3 separate regions of the Homo sapiens genome follow, and regions 2 and 3 are each linked to region 1. The links are contacts of gene promoters, found by promoter capture Hi-C in blood cells and fetal thymus (Javierre and others, 2016). All regions are on one chromosome and are shown on one strand. The core of a region is centred on a gene start or on the middle of the fragment in contact, and the rest is flanking DNA. Distances in the headings are between cores, read along the strand shown.

What was found. Contacts are between HindIII fragments. The CHiCAGO score rates a contact against its expected background, and 5 or more counts as called.
Region 2: a fragment that was not itself captured here is called in contact with the fragment with the promoter of NUCKS1 in region 1 in 1 of 17 cell types (naive B cells); the score reaches 5.4 in naive B cells.
Region 3: a contact is called between a fragment that was not itself captured here and the fragment with the promoter of NUCKS1 in region 1, in 1 of 17 cell types (naive B cells). The highest score is 5.1, in naive B cells.

Annotation. Positions count from the first base shown.
Region 1 is chr1:205,748,630-205,752,006 of GRCh38, forward strand. NUCKS1 (nuclear casein kinase and cyclin dependent kinase substrate 1) reads right to left here and starts at 1,553. Exons shown (of 7, transcript NM_022731.5): 1 at 1,328-1,553. The coding sequence starts at 1,344. RefSeq lists a silencer at 727-1,326 and an enhancer at 1,747-1,996. The HindIII fragment of the contact is 8,985 bases long and covers 1-3,377 here.
Region 2 is chr1:206,033,650-206,037,026 of GRCh38, forward strand. No RefSeq gene overlaps it. Among named protein-coding and RNA genes, the nearest start is that of CTSE, 11 kb to the left of the region's middle. RefSeq lists a silencer at 3,104-3,183. The HindIII fragment of the contact is 4,129 bases long and covers 1-3,377 here.
Region 3 is chr1:206,013,566-206,016,942 of GRCh38, forward strand. CTSE (cathepsin E) reads right to left here. Exons shown (of 9, transcript NM_001910.4): 5 at 2,366-2,565; 6 at 207-329. Among named protein-coding and RNA genes, the nearest start is that of CTSE, 8.6 kb to the right of the region's middle. The HindIII fragment of the contact is 2,766 bases long and covers 234-2,999 here.

The sequences.
Region 1 (3,377 bases), core at 303-2,802:
TAGGAGTACGCAGTCTCATACCACCACCAGTTGGAGGATGATCTAGTCTGGAGACAGAACGGTGTAGAACAAAACCCTTGCCAGGGTCCCAAACCTCTCTTTAGAACTCTAATTAAAGGTACTTCCGTTTCCCACACAACTTGGAATGAAGGGGAAGCAACGACTGTTAAAACATTTAAAAACTAAGCCTTTATCTATTTATTTAGAAAACACACTATGCAAAGAAGCCAATTCCTTACATTAAAAATATTTATTTGCAACAGCTCTCCTTTTTAAGGCCTCAACAGATTGGACTAAACCACACCCCTCCATAAATGGCACATTCCATACAATAGCCTGGAGAATGGCATAGGACGATTCCACCGACAGCTGGGGGAATAGCAAACTTGTTGAAATTCCGAGAATGAAGTCTGATGGTTACCCGAACCTAGCCCTTTTATTACTAAAGTCACTCGGGGACAAGAGGGTTACAAAAATATCCCGAGACGCGTACGCGGGTGAGAGTGGAACGAGAACCACACGGGATTTGGGCCGTGCTGTTAACCCGCACCTCCCTGAGTACGGACATTTCCCCGAGGAAGGACATTTCTAGTCGGAGAGAAAGAGCGAACTTTGGGGTTAACTCTCTCAAAACTCTGAGGTGGGGAGAGAGGCAGCAGCCCATTATTTTCCAGGATCCAGTCCCGAACTCTCACTTTTGCCCGGGGGGAAAAAAACGGGTCCCGCCCACGCTCGGCCCGATCCGGGAGGCGGGGCCTGCAGCGACCCCGAAGGACAGAGGCGGGGCCGGTTGGCAGTGCTGCCCCTCCCCCTTTGCCAGGAACACCCCCGTCCGCTACAGAGAGGGCTCAGGGCCCCCACCCCCGCGCCAGTCGCTGGGGGAAGGGGCAATACGGGTGCCTCCGCCCCTCCTCGCTGAAGGTGGGGAGTGGAGCTCGAGTCCGCCCGCCTCCCCGCGCTGGCTCCAAGGGGACGGCCCCGAGGAGGTGGGGCCTCTTGGGGGCGCTGACTTCACACCCCTCCCCCTCCGGCCGCTGGCGGCTCAGGGACACCCCGCCCGCTCTAGTGCGGTGGGTGGGGGAGGCAGCTGAGCAGACCGGAGCCCTGCAGCGGCGCGGGGCGGGGAGGGGCGCGCGCACGGGCGCGCAGCCACCACCCCCGCGCGCCAGCAGGGCCCCCCACGCTCAAGGGTGCGCGCGGGCCCCGAAAGGGAGGAGGCCGCGCGCGGCACCGGGGATGGCGGACTCTAGCCTTCTGTCCCCCACTCTTTTCACCACTCGCCCCCATCCCCCTCCAACCCGCTCCAGGCCTCAGACTCCGCACTGACCTGACAGGCCGCGACATGTTCGCTGTCGAAACAGGACCGAGTCGAGAAGCCAAAGACCAGGACCCCCCCCACCCCGCGCGCTCGGCGCCCCACCCCCCCCGAACTTCAGCCGATGGGACCGCTGCTGCCGAACCCCGAGCTGCTGGCTTCTCAAACTCCGCTGCTCTTTGGTTCAGGGCTCCTGGAACAGACGAGCCCCCCGCTCCCCCGTCTCTTCAAAATGGATGAATCAAACCAGCCGAAAATGCGCCAAAGCCGCCGTGCAACCAAACCCACTAGGGTTTGTGCGCTCCTCCCCAACACGCCTGCTCATTGGAGACTTCTGCCAGATGCGCCCAGATCATTAGTCCGTTTGAATCATCACGTCTTCCAGGCCCCGCCCTGCTCTCTGATAGGCTCCACCTTCACCGTGGGGGTCCTGTTAGTCAAGATGCTCTGAGAGCGCACGGCCGCAAAACAAAAATGGTCGCTGCTTAGCCCGCCCCCTGGTTTCCACTCCAGAGTTGCAGATTCGTCTGGGGTCGTATCTTAGAAAGACTAGAAAAAAAGATTTATGTAGGGTTCAGCGTTGCTCAGTGTTAGTTTAATGGTGTTTCATCTCGTCTGCCTTGATCACCTTGAAAATCCTCTAATAGCAAAACCCGTGGGAGAGGCAGCAGATTCGTCACTGCGGGGCTGCTACAGAATTGGAGGGAAATTCCTTAGGTTCAAAAAATTTGACCTTAAACCTACAAGCCCCTTACCCTGGCTTCGGCATTAACCCTCAGGGACCAAATGAGGCTGCTGGAGTAGAGAGGCAGGATCATAATCAAGGAATATCTTCACCCCCAATTACCATTCTCCATTCTGGACCTTGAGATCCACTTCAGGGTCATTAAAGTCCCAGTCTGGTGCATTACTATTTTAAGAAAAGAGTCAGGTGTACAATAACTAAGAGCATGAGCTCAGGGGCCACAAGGTATTTCAGGTGGAATCCCAGGTCCACTACTTAATGGTGGTATAACTTTCCTTCTCTGTGCCTCAGTTTTCTCATCTGTAAAATGGGAAACAAGGGTACCTAACTGCATAGGCTTATTAGTATTAAATGAGTTGATATATCTATCAAAAGTCTTTAGGATAGTCTCTGGCTCACAGTAAGTGCTACGTAAGTGTTAAATCCAAGTTTTAAAAGATGATTCCGTCCCTGGGTAGAGATGGGTGGAGCTGGCTCAAGACCCTATGAATTCTATTGATTTACCCTTGCACTTTGAAAAACAAAACAAAGACTCTTCGAAGTCATATAACTGAAAGTAACGCACATCATTTCACTTAAATCCGTGAGCATTTGTTGGATGCCTAATACTCTCAAAGGCAGAGCTCAGGATTCCTATGTGAATGGCTAAGGCTGAGTCTGCTATCGAAAATAGACGTCAATCCCTGTCACAGTCAAAGCGATCATTTTTGTTTGGTGGCTGTGCGCTCTCAGAGCATCTTGACTAACAGGACCCCACGGTGAAGGTGGGGCCTATCAGAGAGTAGGGTGGGGCCTGGAAGACGTGATGATTCAAACGGACTAATGATCTGGGCGCATCTGGCAGAAGTCTCCAATGAGCAGTCAGTTAACAACCAATTGAAGATACACTTTCCAAACAACAACAACAAAAAACACACCACATCTGCCTCCTGAAAGTCTCCCTTTGTAAAATCTGGCTTCCCAAAAAGAAGAGAATAGCACAGTCCACCAGTGAAGCATTAAACAAATTAATATCTTTTGTCTCTTCCATGTCATTCCACCCTCTGTCCCTCTTATTTTTATTTTTAATTTTTATTTTTTCGAGACGGAGTCTCACTCACTATGCTCCCCAGGCTGGATTGCAGTGGCACGATCTCTGCACACTGAAACTTCCACCACCCGGGTTCAAGCGATTCTCCTGCCTCAGCCTCCCAAGTAGCTGGGATTACAGGCGTGCTCCACCATGCCCAGCTAATTTTGGTATTTTATTGTGGAGATGGGGTTTCACCATGTTGGCCAGGCTGGTCTTGAACTCTTGACCTCAAGTGATCTGCCTGC
Region 2 (3,377 bases), core at 370-2,869, 290 kb after region 1:
TTACATTTACAGAGTCCTTTTTGCCATGTAAAGTCACATATTAACAGATTCTAGGGATTAGATATGAGCATGTTTTGGGGCCATTATTCTGCCCATCACAATTACTTATTCAAAAACAATTTAAAATGCAATGAAAAAATAGTGACTCCTCAGCTTTTTCATTTGCGCCGTCAGGTAGATAATTTACGGAGTACAGGGATTGAGGCAGCAGGAACAGGTTGGAGGGAGCAGAGAGTCGAGAGGCCTGTTTGAGCATATTAAGTTGAGATGCCAGTAGACTTTTCAGGGGTGATATCAGCTTGACCCTTGAATGTGTGGGTCTGGTGGTCATAGGCTTGTTAGGGCTGGAGATATTAATTTGGGAGATTATCAGTGAATAGAAAGTGGTTAGAGTCATGAAACTGGCCAAGAGCACCCAGAGAGAGTTTGTAGAAGAAGGAGAAGCCCCAGGACTGTGCTCTGAAGACTGCAGGTAGGTGAAGGAAGAAGAGGAAGCCAAGGAGGCCAAGAAGGAGCACCAGTGGGGATGCAGAAAAACCCCATTACCTCCTCCAGGAGGCTTCCCCACGCAGCCTGGATCTAAAGAGCCTCCATCCTACTCCCTAGTTGCCTCTATCACACGCTCTTGTTCATTTGGTTTATAGGATGATCACAGTCCGTAATTCTCTTGTTTTGTTTCTTTGCTTATTGCCTGTCTTTCCCCACTGTATTGTAAGTTTCATGACAGCAGAGCTTCACCCATCTTGATCATTGCTGTACCCCCAGCACCTAGTCCAATGCCTGGCTCAGAGTAGGCACTCAATAAATGTTTGTTGAGTGAATGAGCGAGTGAATGGATGGATGAAAACAAATTTAATTCCTCTGCCCTCAGTCCATAAACAAAGAAAATGGTGCTAAAATGTAAAAGTTAAGGGGGAAAAAAAGTGCAGCTCTTTTATATCCTCCACAGACTGTTCCTCATGTTAGGGTCACATAGGAGTTGTCTACTGAAAGCACCAGGAAGATACCTCTGTTCCGCCTGTGCCACCTTGCTTGAAATCCTACCATTGTCCGGTCATTCCCTGGAGTGAGGCATCACCCTCTTAGCACAGTGCCCACTAGCTAGTAAGCACTCAATACATTTGAGTTCTTCTTTTTTAAAATTATTATTCAGTCTTTAAAAAATGCAAATATCCCTGCGAAAGATGGCCCACAAAGTATTAACTCCTTACTATGAATTCGTGTCTCAGCAGAAATAGCTGAGGAAGAACCTGGTTTTTCCTTAAACTTGTTGTTTCCCCGACCAGCAGCACATAGCTTGGTTTTTGCATTATCTGAGATGAGTCTACAGGGATGGGGTTGCAGAAAGGGGGAAAGGGCTTTCCAGAAAATGCTAGGGAATCTAAAGCAAACTTCAATGTCTGGTTTTGCCGAGGCTCATGCCTGCACAGCATGAAAATTGCTCTACAAGCCACATCAGCCACTGGCTTTTCATTTTGGGGCGGTGTGAGTCTCCCTGTGAGCTGAGCCAGGCAGTGGAGGAAATGAAGAGGCTCTCAAGGGAGGGGCAAGGGAAAGAGACTGGGCAGGGTGGGTGCAGCTGGCAGTGAGAGACTCTGCCTTTTCAACATGGATGGCTCCTCCCGCTGCCGCTGCCGCTCCAGGAGACAGGTAAACATTCTGTGCAGGGTTGAGACTTCTCTTTCAGTTTCTTTCCTACTTGTCTGGAATTTGGGCTCACATAATATAAAGTGGGCACTCTGTAGTCTAAAGGGATTAGAAAGCAAGGCATCCCCCTCTTCCCTTGAATGGTTTTCTAGGGTGCTATATGTCCCAAACCCCCAAATCGATTACATCGTCTGACAACTGCTTGTGTGGACAATGGGAAGGAATATTGTGCTTGGGGTATGTCTAAGGCTTATAGGAAAAGGCTTGAGCTGCAGGTTAAGTATCTTATGATAAGCAGTGTGGGAACCTACACGCAAATGTATATTGCTGGGTGAATGTTCTCCATCTGTTCTAGATCCCTAACTAGATACAGAGTCCCTTGAGGGTAAACCCATGCTCTAATCTAGACTTTTTGGTCCCCCAACACCCAGCACAGTGGATGGACATGGGGATTTACCTACACTTCTACACCTGTGCTGTCCAGGATGGTGAGAACTTGAATTGAAGTGTACTCCAAGTGTAAAATATACCCTGATTTTGAAGACTCAGTAGGAAAAAAGAACAAAAAATACTAATAATTTTTAAATGAGAACAAGTTCATATAATAGCATTTTGATATATTGGGTTAAATAAAATGTACTATTAAGATTACTGTTACATGCTTGTTTTTACTTCTTAAGTGCGGCTACTAAAACATTTTAAATTACACATGTGGCTTGTGTTGTTTCTACTGAACATCTCTGGTTTATATTGCGCTGGCCTCCCCTCTCCCATCCTTTCTTGCTCCCTTTAAACTCTAATCAGACTAGAGATGCCCTTCTTACTGGGCGTCTAAAGCCCTCGGAATCTTTTATTGGTCACAGCAGGATCTCCTGGGTATTTTGTATTTGTCCAATCACTGATATTCCTTAGCAAATGTGTTGATCATGTCATTTAAGCCTTCCCTATAATTGCACCCTTTGTTCTAAGGTAAAGAAATTCAGGCTGGGTGCAGTGGCTCATGCTTGTAATCCCAGCACTTTGGGAGGCCGAGACAGGTGGATCACCTGAGGTCAGGAGTTCAAGACCAGCTTGGCCAACATGATGAAACCTCATCTCTACTAAAAATACAAAAATTAGCCAGGTGTGGTTGTGCACGCCTGTAGTCCCAGCTACTCAGGAGGCTGAGGCAGGAGAATCGCTGGAACCTGGGAGGTGGAGGTTGCGTGAGCCAAAATCAAGCCACTGCACTCCATCCTGGCTGACTAAGACTTCATCTCAAAAAAAAAAAAAAAAGAAAAAGAAAAAAAAAAGAAATTCAGGCAGCAGCAATTAGGAGAGGGATTGACTTTAATTGAGCATCTAAGTTACCAGCTTTACAAGTGTTATCTTCTTTAAATTTATTTTCATTTGGCTAGATAGGCATTGTTTTCTCTGCTTTTTTCAGATAAAGAGACTAAGACTCAAGAGCTCTGATAACCTGCCCCACCCCAAATCATCCACCTAGTAAGATGTGCAGGGTCAGGGCTTGAACCCTGGTGCACCTGACTCAAAGAGCAAGTTTTTCCCCCACCAGTAGCACATGGCAGGCAGGTTTTTCCCCCACCAGTAGCATGTGGCTTCATATTTTGCATAATTTGAGATGAATCTACAGGGGTCCCCCCACTCATTTGTGTGTTCTATTATACCTGCCTATGGAAGGGGCTCATTAAGGACACCTTGTATTATTTATTCTTTATCACAGATTTCTA
Region 3 (3,377 bases), core at 367-2,866, 260 kb after region 1:
ATGTGTACAAGGAAGGAAGCTGTGTCTGCTGCCCTGGTTACAGAGGTCCCTTCCTGCACACTTGCTCAGCACCTCCATACCTCCAACCACAGTAAGCTTCTGGCATCCTCTGCTAGTGACCAGTGGTTTTTCAGTTAAATCGGTTTGAGTTGTGCCTCTTTTCAGTTTACCCCTAGTACTGTCACTACTTCATGGGGAATACTCACTTATCCAGTGCAATCTGCCAGTAAGCTTGCTTGGTGACTGGGACCCAATTCAGGCTCCCAGAGAAATGGGAGTGGTCGTAGCCTCCAAAAATCAGCTCGCTCCCCGCACCACCTTCTGGGTTACTACATGGAGAGAAAGACAAACTGTCCAGGAAGGGCCACTGCAAAACTCTAGGGGTGAGCCTCAGCTAGGACCCTTTGCTTCTTGGTCTCATGCCAAGCACACAGGTAGGCAGAAACATCAGTCTGGGCTTTGAGACCGGGACTCTGACTACTGCAAGTGAATTGGTCTGGGCCTTTTTGACACAAGGTTAGAAACAACTCCCCTTGACCATTTGTGAATGTGTTTCTGCTTCTTGGATAAAAAGGTTAAGGAGGTGGGAAATGGGGCCAGCAGGTCTGTCATTCAGAACCAAGGCCAGGACCATCCTGGGTGGGTATACACTGTGTGGCTTGAAGCAACCCCCAAAGACACCTTTTCCCAAAGTATCTTCCCCACTATGGTTGTGACAGTGCCTGGCGTTTTTGTGTTATTCACTCCTTATGTTAAGGCAAAGAGGCTAATATGAATGTATCATGACTTACTAGAGCCTGAAAACTTATTTTCATTGGTATTGATTTCTCAGATTATGTTCTGGAACCTAGCAGGACTCTGGAGAAATAGGACCTAAGACAGATTCATTTTGAGGAGGAAAAGGATCAGAAAGATACAAAACTGAAATCAGGGTGGTAAAGAGGGAGAGGAGTGAATACCTGTAGGAATTTTAGGACAGTGGTTTTACAGAGGGAGTGGGGAAAGGAACTCACATTTGTTGATTACCTTGGTGCAAGGCCGTGTAGTGGGGATTTTATCTGTCTAAACTTATTTAACTCACATCAACCTAGTGGTCCGTGGAAGAAACTGAGCCTCAGTGAGATGAAGCAATGTAAGTGGCAGGATTCAAATCCAGGCCAGTCTGACTGCCAAGCCTTGATATTCTCCATTACAGCCCACTTTTCCCAGGCGACGGGAGAAGGAAGTTCTGCAAGGGGAAGCAGAGGTGTCTAGACAACTTGCCTCTCTTACTCACAGCTCTTCCTAGGCCTGGTCCTGAGTGCTGTCATGCTGGAGAGGAAACATAGCTTGATAGGGAAAATCCAGGACCCTCCATGTGGGAGAGGGGAATGAGAGGAATGGGCTTATGCTGAAACAGTGTGAACGCAGGCCAGGTCTGAGCTGGAAAAAGTCAGCAAGGTCAGAAATCACCTTCCTGTGTAAGGAGGAAGAGGAGATGACCCTCCAAGGATGCCGGGCAAGAGTGCCTAGAAACAGGTGAGCCTCATGACCTTTTCCAAAAACAATGTGCAATTTTAAAAATTGTTGTAAAAATATGTCACATAAAATGTACTATCTTACCCATTTTTGAGTCTACAATTCAGTAGTGTTAAGTATGTTCACACTGTTGTAAAATCCAGACCTTTCATTTTACAGAACTGGAACTTTATACCCATTAGGCCATCAACAACGGTTTAAGAATTCCTCACTTCCCCTCCCCAGGCTCTGGCAACTGGCAGTCTACTTTCTGCCTATGAATTTGACTAGTCTAGGTACCTCACCTAAGTGGAATCATACAGTATTTGTCTTTTTGTGACTAGCTTATTTCACTTAGCATTATGTCCTCAAGTTTCTTCTATGTTGTAGCATGTCTCAGAATTTTCTTCCTTTTTAAGGCTGAATAATATTTGATTATTTGGATATGCCACATTTTGTTTATTCATCCATCAGCATGCAATTATTTTATTGTCAGCTTTTCATTTTTTTCTGCCTCCTCCTCCTGCAGGTACTGTCTTTCTTGTTTCACTGGGTCCCCAGTGTGAGCATCATAATCAGCATATAATAGGAGCTTGATATTTAGTGACAGCATCAATGAAGAACCAATCCCAGAGATTCCTTAAATTTAAGCCAGTGTGGTAGAGTTTACAAAGTGTTTTTACAGCTACTTGATGAAGCAAATCCCATTTCCTCAATATTCAGAGAGGTTAAATGTTTTGACTAAGATCACACAGCTGGTAATGGACCAAGCTACCTAAACCAGGTCTTTTGACTGCTAAGTCAAGTGTATGTGTTGTCTCCCTGTAGTTATAACTGACTTTAACCTCACAGACTTGATGGGCCTTACCTGCTCATGTAGACAGAAAACATCGGCAAGTCCACCAGGTTCTGAGCCATCATGTTGTCAAATACTGGAGTCACTCCTCCCACAGCCAAGGAGGGGTATCCCAGGCCCAGAATTCCATCAAACTCTGCATCCACAAAGGTCTGGCCTGGCTCTGTGACACTTTCTCCAAACTGCTGGCCAACCACGGTTAGTCCTTCCACCTGGTAGGAGAAAGCCCACAGGAGAACAGGAGAATGGCACAGGGGATTGCTGGCAAAGGGTTTGACTCCTGGATTTTCCTCTGTCTTGAAGCTAATGCCTCTCCTTCCCAACTTTCCTTGACTAAATGAGCACAAAGATGCTTGCTATATTCCCAAAAAACAGGACATTCCAAACCTCAGAAGCCCTCATGCACCTGCCAATCATTGCGCCCCTCCTCAAGAAGAGCCAGTCTCCTGACTTCTAATAACATATATTGGTTTTGCCTATTTTTTGGATTTTATATAAATGGAATCATCCCATATGAACTCTTTGGTATCTGGCTTCTGTCACTCATCATGTGCTTATTGTACACTGTTTTTTTGTAACTTGTTTCAGAAAATTTTGCCTACCTTAAGGTCATGAAAACATTTTCTCATGTTTTCTTCTAAAAGCTTTATTGTTTACTTTTCACATTGCGATCTGGAACCTATATGAAATGTGATAATGTGTAAGGTAGGAATTAAGATTTATTTTTTTCTATCTGGATATTCATATGACCTGGCACTATTTAATAAATATACCATCATTTCCTCCACATACTGCAGTATCTTGTTCAACGCAAGTCAGATGACTGTGTTGATAGTTTTGTATTTTCTGTTCTGTTACATTTGTTTATTTTTTAAATTCTGTGCCAACACCACACGTCTACATTACTGTAACTTTATAATAAATCTTAATATTTACCAGTGTTTTTCTTCAGCAAGATTGTATTGGTGTATTACATATCCATATAAATGTTAGAATCAGTTTGCTAATGTCTAAGAAAAAATGC